Regions from separate parts of the Homo sapiens genome. Here region 2 is linked to region 1. The links are contacts of gene promoters, found by promoter capture Hi-C in human tissues and cell types (Jung and others, 2019). All regions are on one chromosome and are shown on one strand. Each heading gives the region's core, a stretch centred on a gene start or on the middle of the fragment in contact. The rest is flanking DNA. Distances are from core to core; before and after follow the strand shown.

The links. Contacts are between HindIII fragments. The study calls those that stand out against the background at their distance.
Region 2: a contact is called between a fragment that was not itself captured here and the fragment with the promoter of BCL2A1 in region 1, in 1 of the 25 tissues and cell types used here (liver).

Annotation. Positions count from the first base shown.
Region 1 is chr15:79,969,719-79,972,838 of GRCh38, forward strand. It overlaps BCL2A1 (BCL2 related protein A1), which reads right to left and starts at 1,478. Exons shown (of 2, transcript NM_004049.4): 1 at 982-1,478. The coding sequence starts at 1,401. RefSeq lists an enhancer at 902-2,101. The HindIII fragment of the contact is 21,858 bases long and covers 1-3,120 here.
Region 2 is chr15:79,840,954-79,844,064 of GRCh38, forward strand. ST20-MTHFS (ST20-MTHFS readthrough) reads right to left here. Exons shown (of 4, transcript NM_001199760.2): 4 at 2,594-3,111. It overlaps MTHFS (methenyltetrahydrofolate synthetase), which reads right to left. Exons shown (of 3, transcript NM_006441.4): 3 at 2,594-3,111. Among named protein-coding and RNA genes, the nearest start is that of MTHFS, 55 kb to the right of the region's middle. The HindIII fragment of the contact is 6,213 bases long and covers 1-3,111 here.

The sequences.
Region 1 (3,120 bases), core at 228-2,727:
AAGCATACATATACATTTTATATAAAACTTTTTTTACAAAAAATGTTTTACAAAGAAGTATTGTTTATTTTCTATGGATAGATTCAGTAGGCATGTTTTGCATGCAAAATAATTGATAACAGTGGTTACCTCTTGGGAGAGGTGAAGGCCGTTGGAGAGAGGATCAATGAACACTTAAGTGCTTTAAAAAAATAATTATTAAGTATATTGGAATATAAAGGAAACCATATACATCCAGCTGTGTCAGGCTTTTTACCAACATGAGTTTCAACACAGGCCTCTACATAGTCTTGGCTTTTTTAGGCACTGATAATAAAGTAAATTTTTATTTGAAAATTCTTGAATAAAGGTTCTTGCTGGTCATACAGTATATTATGTTTTAATCAACAAACTTTAACAGCCCGGAATTTATTATTAGTAATAATGTGTTATATATTATATGTAATGTAATTTGCTATATATTAATATATGTTACTATTTATTATGTATTAGTAAACTGAAAAACACCAATTTGTAAGCGATGAACTTACAAAAATTTACACCTGTCTTTTGCAACCCATAAATACCTAAAAATAACAGCATCTGATAGCAACTTTCTGTGCTGATTGTAGAAATTTCTGTACTGTCTGTACTGTCATGACAACCCTAGCAAAAGCTAAGTACTAGATTAGAGTGTGTGCACAGCTGATTGTGAAGCTGCATGAGAGAGGTGCTTTATTAATCCCCAAAGCTCACTACTGTAATTTATACTGTTAAGAATAAAAACTGAAAACATAAGTGCTTTCCAACTATAAAGTTCAAGTTCAAGGATTCATTGGAAATAAGCCAGAAAGTATATTTTTATTTTAAAAATTAAAACAAACCACCCAAGGAAAATAGTATTCTTAGGTAAAGTGTTTTGTTGTTGTTTTAACTAGCAAGGAAATTCTCAATTTCTATTTCACAGGAAAGAACAATGAAGAATTTTTCCATCACACATACCCAGCCTCCGTTTTGCCTTATCCATTCTCCTGTGTTATTCATTATGAACTCCGCAACAAAATATGAAATCTCCTTATAGGTATCCACATCCGGGGCAATTTGCTGTCGTAGAAGTTTCTTGATGAGAATACCTTCAAATGCAAATATGGTTACAATTCTTCCCCAGTTAATGATGCCGTCTTCAAACTCCTTTTCCATCACTTGGTTGAATAGTGTTCTGGCAGTGTCTACGGACACAACATTAACATTGTCCAAGCATGACTTCAGATTCTTTTCCACTTCTTTTTGGACTGAGAACGCAACATTTTGTAGCACTCTGGACGTTTTGCTTGGACCTGATCCAGGTTGTGGTATCTGTAGGACGCACTGCAGATAGTCCTGAGCCAGCCTGTAAATATATCCAAATTCACAGTCTGTCATCTTCTGCCTGGTGGAGAGCAAAGTCTTGAGCTGGCTCACCTTGAAGCTGTTGAGGCAATGTGCTGAGAATGCTCACTGAGCTTGACTGAGTTATGACACATGATGATACATGGAGGCTGGTGGAATTTCTGTTTGCATCACTTTATAATATCCTTCCTCCTAGTCACTTTCGTGCGTAGGCTGTGTTTCATGTCATGTATGAAAGAGAAAGTTTAAAATGTGAAAGAGGAAAATGTTTCAGAGAAGCCACTTCCTCATCCTGTGATTAATTCAGCTTTGCAAGTCTTAAATGCAGGATGTGGAGAAATTAGAATCCTTGTAGATTGCTGGTGGGAATGTGAAATGGTACAACCCCTGTGAAAATGTTGGCAGTTTCTCAAAAAGTTAAATACAGAATTGTCAAAAGACCCAGCAATTCCATTCATAGGTATACACCCAACAGATACTCAAATACTTACATACGAATGTACATGGCAGCACTATTCACAATAGCCAAGATGTGGACACAACTCAAATGTTCATCAACAGACGAAAGGATAAATAAATTATGGAACATTATTCATCCCAAAAAAGGAATGAAGAACTGATACATGCTTCAACAGGAATGAACCTCAAAAACATTAGGCTAATAGAAAGAAGCCAAACAGAAAAGGTCATACATTATGTGATTCTATTTCTATGAAATATCCAGACAGTTAAATCCATAGGATAGAAAGCAAATTGGTGGTTGACAGGGGCTGAGAAGAGGAAGGAGTAACTGCTTAATGGGTAGAAGGTTTTCTTTTGTGTGATGAAAATGTTTTACAAGGCCGGCCGCGTTGGCTCACGCCTGTAATCCTAGCACTTTGGGAGGACAAGGCGGGCGGATTGCCTGAGCTCAGGAGTTTGAGACCAGCCTGGGCAATATGGTAAATCCCCGTCTGTACTAAAATACAAAAAATTAGCCAGGCGGGTGGCGTGTGCCTGTAATCCCAGCTACTCGGGAGGCTGAGGCAGGAGAATTGCTTGAACCCGGGAGACAGAAGTTGCAGTGAGCCAAGATCACGCCACTGCACTCCAGTCTGGGCAACAGAGCGAGACTCTGTCTCCAAAAAAAAAAAGAAAAGAAAATGTTTTGCAGCTAGATAGAGGTGGAAGTTGCACAACACTGCGAAGGTACTAAATGCCACTGAATTGTTCACTTTAAAATGGTTCTGTGAATTTCAAATTTAAGAAAAGTCTTAAACGCCATCCACGGGGTAAACCGGAGTAACGACAATTTGGAATGGAGACTACAAAACAGCCTGGGTGGCAGAGAACAGGGCCTCTCGAGGTGACTCTGGCAGTACCGCCCTTGATCATTTGTAATTGAGTAAGGATGATACCGAGAGGGAAGAAAAAAATACCCTCTTTGGGCCAGGCACGGTGGCTCACCCCTGTAATCCCAGCACTTTGGGAGGCTGAGGCGAGCGGATCACGAGATCAGAAGATCGAGACCATCCTGGCTAACACAGTGAAACCCCATCTCTACCAAAAATACAAAAAATTAGCCAGGCATGGTGGCGGGCACCTGTAGTCCCAGCTACTTGGGAGGCTGAGGCAGGAGAATCCTTTGAACCCAGGAGGCGGAGCTTGCAGTGAGCTGAGATTGTGCCACTGCACTCCAGCCTGGGCGACAGAGCGAGACTCCATCTCAAAAAAAAAAAAAAGAAAAAGAAAAAGAAAATACCTTCTTTGGTC
Region 2 (3,111 bases), core at 40-2,539, 130 kb before region 1:
GAATTTTCAGAGTGAAAGTTATAGTTCATCACTGAGACACAAAGGAACTACTTTCAGAGACTTGTAGTATGAAGAGTGCATATAAAAATGGCTATTTGGAAATATTTTCATCATTATATGACTATGTTGCCAAAAACTATTAATAGTGTGACACCTACAAACACTTTCACATCTACACAACTGAAAAATTTGTAAGCAGAATTTTTCTAACTTGATTTAAAATCTTTGAAAGAATTTCAGTAAGCTTCGAACCTACTTGTTTTTTATGTTTTTGTTGTTGTTGTTGTTGTTGTTGTTGTTAGAGACGGGGTCTTGCTCTGTCACCCAGGCTGGACTTCAGTGCCGCAATCATAGCTCACTGTAACCTCGAACTCCAGCCCCTACTTTTTAACAAAGTAAATGTGTAGCACCTTCTGATTAACATGCAAAAATGACAGATTCACATCAAGAAAATGGATATTTACCAGCCAGATTTAAATTAAAAAAAAATTATCTTTGCAAAATTGGTAAATAGGATTGAAAATTTTAGTAGGTATAGTTTTCCTTCCATCTGAATCTGCTTCTCTAGAAGGTATCCTTTTCAGCTCTAACAGCCCTTAAGACCAAATATTGAAATAAACTGAAATTAGAACCAGAATTTTGAATCATTCAAAAGGTGTTAAAATAAGGTTTTCAAAAATAGTAAATGTCCAAAAGATTTCATTTAAAAAATATTGCTTTTTTAAAAAGTCCATTATAAATTATATATAACATATTCTACTTCAACATCATCTCATGCTGCTCTTGATCATATTGCTCTTTTTAAAAATGAGTATATTACACTTATTTATATATGTATAAAATATATATAAACAAGTATATTATAAATTATATATCATATATTCTATTTCAACATTATCTCATACTTCTTGTGTGTATATTTTATAATGTGTATGTTATTACTCAGAAAAATTTATTATTACTTTAAGCATATAAATAAACATATTTGGGGGTAGGTGCTTACAGGGATTGGCAACTACCATTAAAGGGCAGGAGGTCTACAATCATCCAGGAATAGGGAAGAAGACAACCCTAAAAAGCAAACAAGAGAGCACTAAGAAGGAAAAGTAGCACAGAAAGACAATGTGACACACACACATGGACTGCCCAACACAACGCAATGCAGTAATAGAAAACTTGTTCTGGGATAATCCAAGCCTGAGACAATGCTAAGGGGACAGAATCTCAGCAGCAAACAGCAACCAACATAAAAATGAGCAAGTGCACAGCACAGGCAGGGCAATATTCAAACTGGTTCATTCCTTCATCAAGAATTGATTGGCTCTTAGGCATTCCTGAAGAAGAATTAGGAAGGAGGCTTACCCTCATAGCCATCAAGACTTAAAACTATGAGAACTAAAGCAATGTGGGGCTGGTGCTGAGACAGAAAAACATAACAAAGGGACAATGAAGTAAGCCAGCAAACAGATTCACATATATTGGAGAACTTAATCTATAACAGACATAAAGTTACATATTCAATAAATGTTGCTGGAACAACTAAAAAAAGAATTTATTGGCTCTTTATTTTTTGTGTCTGTGGTAGATACTGGAATAAACTATGAACTTGGCAGAGAATTTGCCTTTGAGGAGATTGTAGGGTAGTGGAGAAATTAAGCATGTAAACATATGACTAAAGAGCAGTGTGATCAACTGAATTTCAATGATCTCTGCAGGAAAAAAAAAAAAAAATTGGGACCAGGAACTGTCTGCAGCAAGACACTCACGCCTAGTCACATTTATCAATCTCCTAGTTAGTAAGACTTTGTGATTAAGTGTATAATGCTCTTGACTAGAACTTTATATAGTTTACTTTCTAATTAAATTAAGCACAGTTCTATAGTACATACAGCAAACACAGACCTATGTTGGGGCCCTGATATATTTCCAATTTCCCAATATTTGAAATTGTTTTTGTGCAGATCTAGTTGCTATTTCTCTTCTACTCAGATTGTCCCCTCATCTGAGACGCTCATCATTCTTGCTTCATGTTAGCCTCTACTGAAGTGCTTGCCTCCTGAGTCTAAGGCCTTGTCTTCAGCCTCTGTGTATGCCCTAATCAGAGTTACAGTGTTGTAATCACCTACATCATAGGGGCATTTTCTCCCTTCCAATATCCCTGCACAAAGACTACTGTGCATTAGTGATCACTAGGGAGTGCTTCTCTTTTCAGGCCGAGATCCTGTGGCCCTCTGACTTTCCTGAATCTCAGCACCCTGCATTTTCTGGCCAGTTAACTCGGCATTCTGTCTGCACTTGAGGAGCTGGTAGAGTGGTTTTTAAATGCTCTCATTTAACAGAAGAATAACATAGACTAAGTTCAACAATGCCAAACTTTCTAGACCTGCAGCAGGTCAGGAATTTTACTGCTCTACCATTTCACACCAACAGTCATGTCAGCTACATTAACATTCACTTTAACCTTATAGTCGAAATAATACTTAACAATATTTTTAACCAGTACAATAATGTGACTTCATAGCTTCTGAGAATTCAGTTTCCTTCCCTTTCCTCATCATACATATTATATTGTACAAACCCATATTCAGCCTGATATTTTTCAAATGTTTTTACTTTTGTACATAAAACATCAAATTTATGCTACTATCCAAAGAATAATGGATGAGTATTTTGAATGAAACACTTCCAATGTATTCAATTATTTCATTAAAAAATTCTCTCTCTCACACACACACTATATGTCTAGTTGTGTACTAAGCATAAGAAGTATAAAGATCACTTCTTTTCTTTGGAGCTCACAGTATGGTGAAGGGGACAGATATGACAACAAATAATTTGATACGTAAGACAACATGATAAGCACATCAATGGCCAAGGCCACTCAGACAAGGGAAGGAACACTCACTCTGCTTGGGAAAGTAGCAGAAGACTTCACAGAAGAGGTGATGCTAGGGCTGAGTCTTCAAGGGAAAACAGTCTTCTAGATGAACAACAGAAAGAGCATTTCAGACAGAGAGAAATGCATGCTTACTATGTGCAAAGGGCAGAAGCCTGCAGTGCTCAGTCAGTGTTACAGGAGAATACAGAGTTGGGAGAGAAGAGGCTAGAAAA